2 separate regions of the Homo sapiens genome follow, and region 1 is linked to region 2. Evidence: promoter capture Hi-C in human tissues and cell types (Jung and others, 2019). All regions are on one chromosome and are shown on one strand. The core of a region is centred on a gene start or on the middle of the fragment in contact, and the rest is flanking DNA. Distances in the headings are between cores, read along the strand shown.

What was found. The method cuts DNA at HindIII sites, captures the fragments that hold promoters and counts their contacts. A contact is called where the count stands out against the background at its distance.
Region 1: a fragment that was not itself captured here is called in contact with the fragment with the promoter of KCNMB4 in region 2 in 1 of the 25 tissues and cell types used here (H1 embryonic stem cells).

What each region holds. Positions count from the first base shown.
Region 1 is chr12:70,509,356-70,512,941 of GRCh38, forward strand. It overlaps PTPRB-AS1 (PTPRB antisense RNA 1), which reads left to right. Exons shown (of 9, transcript XR_001749196.2): 3 at 857-929. Among named protein-coding and RNA genes, the nearest start is that of PTPRB-AS1, 43 kb to the left of the region's middle. The HindIII fragment of the contact is 3,647 bases long and covers 1-3,586 here.
Region 2 is chr12:70,364,589-70,368,637 of GRCh38, forward strand. It overlaps KCNMB4 (potassium calcium-activated channel subfamily M regulatory beta subunit 4), which reads left to right and starts at 1,702. Exons shown (of 3, transcript NM_014505.6): 1 at 1,702-2,482. The coding sequence starts at 2,147. RefSeq lists a silencer at 1,518-1,757. The HindIII fragment of the contact is 14,293 bases long and covers 1-4,049 here.

The sequences.
Region 1 (3,586 bases), core at 528-3,027, 140 kb after region 2:
GGGGGAGCTTGCAGTGAGCCAAGATTGCGCCACTGCACTCTAGCCTGGGTGACAGAGCGAGACTCCGTCTAAAAAATAAAAAATAAAAACAAAATAAAGAACATTGCTGTGTTCCTTGGAGTTGCCAATCAGTTTGACCTTGAGACCTCATGAAGATGATAAGCCATAGTGTCTCTCCTTTTTCTCTCTCTGTGGAATGAGATTACCTGGAAATGAACTTTCCTAGTAAAGTTTGTCAGACTTATATCTAAAATGTTAATCTTCAGTGCTTTTAGAAGAGAAAAATTTTAATCAAAAGGGGGAAGTGAGAATAAAAAATAGCTCAGATAAGTCTGAACTATGTGAACTTTGCAAAATGTGTCAGGCCCAGGGAGACATGAGTATGAGACTTCAGTCATGCACCCATTCCATGCCTAAATGCAATTGCTCAAAGGCATATTATTCTTTCTTTTCTTACCTGTGGTTTTCTGACTAGCTGCCTCACCCATTATCTTCATGTTCCTGGGATTTTTGATACAAAGAACAATGTATAGCAAATCAATAGTTTATGTTATTGTCATTTCTTGGTAAACAACCAAGGAAGTGCCTCTTCTTATTTCTTTTTTCTTTCTTTCTTTTTCCTTGGCTATGTCTTCTGCATGCCTGTTCTTTTTTCCTTTAAAAGCCCACTTGTAACTGCTGTAAAGTCGGGACATATATTTAGGGCAACTTGAGTCCATGCTTCTGGGTTTCAGTCTTCAAACTTGGCCCAAATAAACTCTCTCCTTATGTTAATTTTGTCTGTTTTTTCTTTAGGTTGACATGTCCTAGGGCAAAATTACTTACTTTCTGTATGCCTCTGTTTCTTCATTTATAGGATTATGTTGGCTCGGAGAATGATACCTCAAAGGCTGGTGCTGAGAGTTCTTAGAAGCTGCTTCAGAATCAAGGTTTAACCGTGTTTCTCCCCTTCCCTTACAACCCTAAGCTCAGGGAGGGACTCTTTGGATTTCCTTATCTGATGAAGAAAGCTTTCTAAAAGAAATTCTGTGGTCTTAATCCCCCTCCCTAAGGATCTCTCCAGAGATCAACCACTGGAGAAAAGATACTAGGAGTCATCACCACATCTAGACAGAGTGCTGCTCCAAGAGATTAACTGAGGGATTTCATCTGCATAATAAGTCAACCTTTTTTCCGGGCGCAATGGCTCACGCCTGTAATCCTAGCACTTTCGGAGGCCCAGGTGAGTGGATCACCTGAGATCAGGAGTTTGAGACCAACCTGGCCAACTTTGTGAAACCCTGTCTCTACTAAAAATACAAAAATTGCCAGGCATGGTGGTGCACGCCTGTAATCTCAGCTACTCGGGAGGCTGAGGCAGGAGAATTGCTTGAACCCGGGAGGTGGAGGTTGCAGTGAGCCGAGATCGCACCACTGCGCTCCAGCCTGGGTGACAGAGCGAGACTCTGTTTCAAAAAAAAAAAAAAAAAAAAAAAGACAATCTTTGTTTCTGTGCAGCTCTGCCCCTGTAATGTCTACTTCAACTTCCCAGGTCCATTCATTCTCCCTAATGGTTTATTGCGCCTCAAAAGAATTGTCTACATTCCCTATCTTCTCTTCTATGAAAAAGGATATATAAGCTTCTATACCATACTGGGTTATAGAGCAATCACTGTGATTTTCCCTCAAGCATGTTAATAATTTGTATGCCTTTTCTCCTATTAATTTGCCTTTTGTCAGTTGATTTTCAGCACATCTTCAGAGGACAAAGAAGCAGCTCTTTTCACTCCTACAATGGGAATGATAATCTCCACCTTATTTAGTTTTAAAAGAATTAAATGAGATAATGCAGCTAAAGCAGTTCAGAATAAAACCTGACATGTAGTAATACTAGTTGCTAATGATTATTAAGTGCTTATTATGTGCTAGGGCTCAAAAATATTACATGTTTCTATTCCTTTTTGTCAAACAGGGCATGTTCAAAGAGTTAAATTTGACAGATGAGAATCTACAAAGCAGGGAGGTTGCCCAAACTCAATACTGAATATCATGCATCAGAATCACCTTGGAGGACTTGTTAATAAAACACAGATTGCTGGGCCCCATCCCCAGATTTTCATATTCAGTAGGACTGGAGAGTGCTATCTAAGAATATGCATTTCTAACAACATCCCAGGTGATGCTGATGCTGCTGGTCTGGGGACCAAACTTTGAGCTACGTGGGCATAGAGGTTAAGAGGTCACATTTTGAAATCAGAAGGATTCATATTGGAAGCTGAGCTTTAATACTAGATGGCCTTGGGAAAATTACCTTGTCTTTTTTTTTTGAGATGGAGTCTCACTCTGTTACCTAGGCTGGAGTGCAGTGGCGTGATCTCGGCTCACTGCAACCTCTGCCTCCCAGGTTCAAGTGATTCTCCTGCCTCAGCCTCCCGAGTAGCTGGGATTACAAGTGCATGCCACCACGTCCAGCTACTTTTTTGTATTTTTAGTAGAGACAGGGTTTCACCGTGTTCGCCAGGATGGTCTCGATCTCCTGACCTCATGATCCACCTGCCTCAGCCTCCCAAAGTGCTGGGATTACAGGCATGAGCCACCGCACCAGGCCTACCTTGTCTTTTTAAGCTTCAATTTCTTTGTCTCCAAATAGGTATAACAACAAGAGTTGTATAAAGAGTTGAATTAGATGAGACATATAGAACATTTGGCACACAATTAGTGCATAATGTGCATTAGCCATTGTTCCTATTCTGCTAAATTTTGGGCCACTCTCCAGTCTTTTCTGTGCATCTACCTCTGTATTTGTAAAGTGAGGATATTAATCTGTATTGTATGGAAGTTGAAGGCACTCAAAAATAGCCTCAGGTGCCTTTTATTTATTATTATTATTATTATTATTATTATTATTTTTAGACAGAGTCCTGTTCTGTCGCCCAGGCTGGAGTGCAGTGGCACGATCTTGGCTCACTGCAACCTCTGACTCGCGGTTTCAAGCGATTCTCCTGCCTCAGCCTCCTGAGTAGCTGGGACTACAGGCACCCATCACCATGCCCAGCTAATTTTTGTATTTTTAGTAGAGATGGGGTTTCACCATGTTGGCCAGGATGGTCTTGATCTCCTGACCTCGTGATCCACCCACCTCATCCTCCCAAAATTCTGGGATTACAGGTGTGAGCCACCATGCCTGGCCTTATTATTATTTTTAAACTTATTTTTGGTTCAGGTTTGTTATCCAGGTAATCTCGTGTCACAGGATTTTGCTGTACAGATTATTTCGCCAAGTACCTTGGGTGCCATTTAAAAGTAAAAAGCTCTGTCTAAATCAGTGGTCCCCAACCTTTTTGGCACCAGGGACCAGTTTTGTGGAAGAAAATTTTTCTATGGACTTGGGGGGTGGTGGAAGGAGGGGGATGGTTTCAGGATGAAACTGTTCCACCTCAGATCATCAGGTGCTAGATTCTCATAAGGAGTGCTCAGCCTAGATCCCTCACATATGCAGTTCATAACAGGGTTCGCAGTCCTTTGAGAATCTAATGCTACTGCTTATCTGACAGGAGGTGGAGCTCAGGTGGTAATGCTCTCTCACCCATTGCTCACCTCCTGCTGT
Region 2 (4,049 bases), core at 452-2,951:
CTTTTAAGCAATGTAATCACAATTGTCTTTATGCTAACAGGAAAAGAATACAATTCTTACATTTAAATTAAAAAAAGAAAATCTCAAAACCTGAAAGGTATTAGAGAACAAAGCATCTTCCTAATTTGGACGTTTTTCAAACTCTACATCTTCTTAATTTATTGAGAAAAAGACACTTAGGATCTTCCTGTAATTAATTTGCCCATTGCTGGGAAATACTTGTTACCTGTCATAATGTAGTGCTTCAAAATAACGTTATCAGAACTGCAGTCGAAAGGTACTCAATACCAGTTAAGTAACATTTGAAGTCCAGGAAAGAGAAGTCAAGAATTCCATGATTCCATGTTTCCGTATTCATCAGGAACATAATTAAGAGTTTATTCATTTGAGACTTACAAGCAAACAAAAAAAGTTTATGTAGTTTGCAAGGAAGTTAATATTCTGATTTTATTCTTCGAAATGTACATATAAATAGTTCTCAAGTTTGATTTTATGATAAAAGTGTAGTTTGGGAAAAGGTCATTCTAACTTTAAAAAGGTCGCGAAAACAATAGAGGCTGAAGCATTGTTAGCGTAATTGGGGGAGGAGGGAGCAACGGCAAGAATTAAGAGCAGAACACAGGTCTAGAAACAGTACCTGTCCCAAAGTGGGTCTGCCCGGCGCTGTCGCTTTAAGCAGCGCTCCTGGAAACCTCATCTACAAATCCTGGGGCGGGTCAGGGGTGGCAAGACTCCTAAGGAGGGAAACGACAGAAATGATTCTGTTCTTGCGAGCCCCAAAGCAAGAGTACTTTTCTGATGGGTAAAGTGGTATTTCTTTCCAGGCTGCAAAGCTCTCCACCTTTTTCCTTTGGTCTCAGTCAGCCCCAGCCATGGGGGCAAATCAAGTTGGGGTCAACTCGGCTGCCAGAGACCTAAGTTGCCACAAGGGTCACCGACGACCTAAGCAGCAAGTTTCCTTCGTCCAGCCTCCTGCCCCCACGCACATTGCCTCCACAGCAAACTCCACCTGACTCAGCTTGTTTAACTCCAATCCTGCAGCCCTCCCGGCCTCAGCAGGGTCAGGGGGCGCGGGTCTGCGCCAAGACGGTTAGGAGGCCCAAGTCCTGGGACTGGACGGTTACTGCGCTCCCTTGGGCGCAGCCGCTGGCGGCGTGGGCGCGGCTGGGTCACGCCTCCGGCACCACCGCGCGCCAGCCCGCCCGTGGCATGGGAACCTGCGATTCAGTCGTCCCCGGGGACCTCCCAGCGCACACCGCTAGCCTGGGGCTTTCACCTCGATCCGCCCGGCCTGGGCGGCTCGTGTCCTCCCACACCGCCACCCGTGCCCGCTTCCCGGGGTGCGCCCGGAGCCTGGCCGCTCTCCCTGCAGGTGACCAGTACTCGTTTGGAGTTCAAGATTCCCGCCGCTCCACTTGAACTCCACCCTCCCCTCTTATTATTATTATTATTTTAACTTCCCTCCGGTTAAGCTAAATTGATCTTAATCTTTCATCTCGGACGTCCCTCTAAGGGGAGTGAGCGAAGATTCCGATTGCAAGTCGCCGCTGTCGCTTGTGCCCGTCAGCCCCTCGCCCAAAGGAGACGCCCCCGGGCGGGGCGGGGCGGAGCGGGGCGGGGCGGAAGGGCCCGGGTCTGCTGCGGACGGGGCGGGGCGGAGCCTCCTCCTGCACGGGGGAGCCCCCGGGCTCGCCCCAGCTCAGACACTCCTAGCCTTGGGGCAGCTGCCGGGCGAGTCAGCGGAGTAGCGGCCAGCGGGCGATGGAGACAGAGAGACACCCGACGAGAGGAGGCGGGGTGGGGGAGGCGGGGAGAGTGCGGGGGCGGAGGCTGGCAGGGGGCGCTGGAAGCTGGAGCGGTCCGTGCGCTCCCCGCGCCCGAGGGTGCAGGAGGCTCTGAAGCGGCTGCTGCACCGCGGGGCCCAGGCGGCGGCTGGGGGGCTGGGGGGCGCTGCCGCCGCCGCCGCCGGGGGCGTCGCTGGCCTCGGCCCCTTTGTTCTCGCGCGCTCCCCCTCGCCGCCCACTCCCCTGCTGTCGCGCGGCGGCGGCGGTGGCGGCGGCGGCTCCTCCCGCCCGAGGCAGTCGGGCTCGGCGCCGGGGGCGGGAGGGGGCGGGGGGAGCACGCCAGCCGCCGAGAGTGGGGGGCGATGGCGAAGCTCCGGGTGGCTTACGAGTACACGGAAGCCGAGGACAAGAGCATCCGGCTCGGCTTGTTTCTCATCATCTCCGGCGTCGTGTCGCTCTTCATCTTCGGCTTCTGCTGGCTGAGTCCCGCGCTGCAGGATCTGCAAGCCACGGAGGCCAATTGCACGGTGCTGTCGGTGCAGCAGATCGGCGAGGTGTTCGAGTGCACCTTCACCTGTGGCGCCGACTGCAGGGGCACCTCGCAGTACCCCTGCGTCCAGGTCTACGTGAACAACTCTGAGTCCAACTCTAGGGCGCTGCTGCACAGCGACGAGCACCAGCTCCTGACCAACCCCAAGGTAAGAACGCCCCGCGCACCCAGGGGCTCCCCGCGAGGGAGGTTTGGAGGCAGCGTCGGTGTTAGACTCCGCGCGGGGAGGGTTCGGCGTGTGCTCGCATTGCTAGGAGGAGACCAGGTGGCGCAGGCTGTGCTCAAACCAGGAATGACTACATCAGGGAGCCCCAGGGCTCCGGTCTTTTCAGGTGGGTTTACGCGCGGCGACCAGTGGTGCCCAGAGGCTTACTTTAAAACCTGTCTTGCCTGGTCTCAGATTTTGAGGCCTCGACCCAGTCCGGGTCCTGCGCCTACCGGACTGGGTTTGGAGAAGTGCAAGGAGCCAAGAAAGTTAACTTTTCCTCCATTTAAAGCCAGTGGTTAGCGGGGATCCACCTACTCCAGCTCACGGTCAAGGTCCGAGCTTCAGCTGGTCTCATCTAGAACTCAGATGGAATGACCTTCCTTGAAAGGTCGAGGGGACTCTCGAAAGTTGTGAGAGAGTTCCTCACCTTTTCGCTCTACATAGGCATTTTCAACTTGGGGTTCAAAGATAAGCTTTTGTGGCTTGACAAACGACCCGGAATCAAATGTGGAATATTGCGGGTCCATTTTGGGAAGTACAGAGGGCTCCTAGTTTTCATGAAATAGATTCTCAAAAGAGTCTACAGGGAGCCTAGTTACCCTTTGTGTTTAGGGACAGTCAGGAGTCGTCTGGAGAACAGTAAAACTTGCTGAAAATAGAAAACCTTCAGTGAAATGTACCTAATATGACTTCTCTGACAACTTCTATTGGTCTCGAAAGCAAGCAAGAAGAAAAAGAAAAAGAAAAAAAAAAAAGATAAAACCTGGTTAGGACTCCCGGGATGGAGAGCAGAGAGAGGAAGTCTCAGAAAACTGTTCCCAATGGAGAAAAATAACTTATAAAAAGCAGTGTCCTTAGCCTGTGAACTAATTGAGCTTTGTAGTGCACCTGGTTCTGGTTCCGTTTCTACTTCCCTTGATCTTTTCTGCTCTCCTTGTTGCTTAACTATCAAAGGTATGTATCTTTTTAAAAGTTACTGACATTTTTCCTTTTTTTGAGGGATCAAGCAGAAAAACAGTCCAAAAGGGAATGCATCTTGTGTTCACAGGAAAACTTTCTGTTAACTCTAACAAGATATATTTATATTAATCCAAAAGAAAAAAATTCTACATTAATATTATAATAGTATTTAAAACAGCTTACCGTCACTCTGCAATAAAACTTGTGGTCTTACCTCCTGAACAGTAAATTCTTGAATTTGAGACATTTAGAAAATATTTCTTTTTAAAAATATGAATGACTCCTCTCAAAAAAAAAATGCTCCTGTCGACAAATGAATATTGATTTACCTTAAAAAATATCAATAATACATAAGCAGTAAATATAGGACTAAGAATATAGAATTTGGAGTATAATGTTAAAGATCTTGAAGAGGTGATAACGTCTCAAAGACAAATGTTGTAACTTGATCCTCTTAATGCTCAGGAATTTAAAAAGAAATCTCAGGGTTTTAGAAACATTTTTTTTTTTAGAATTAAATCAATAATGTCAAAGATGAGTGCCAACC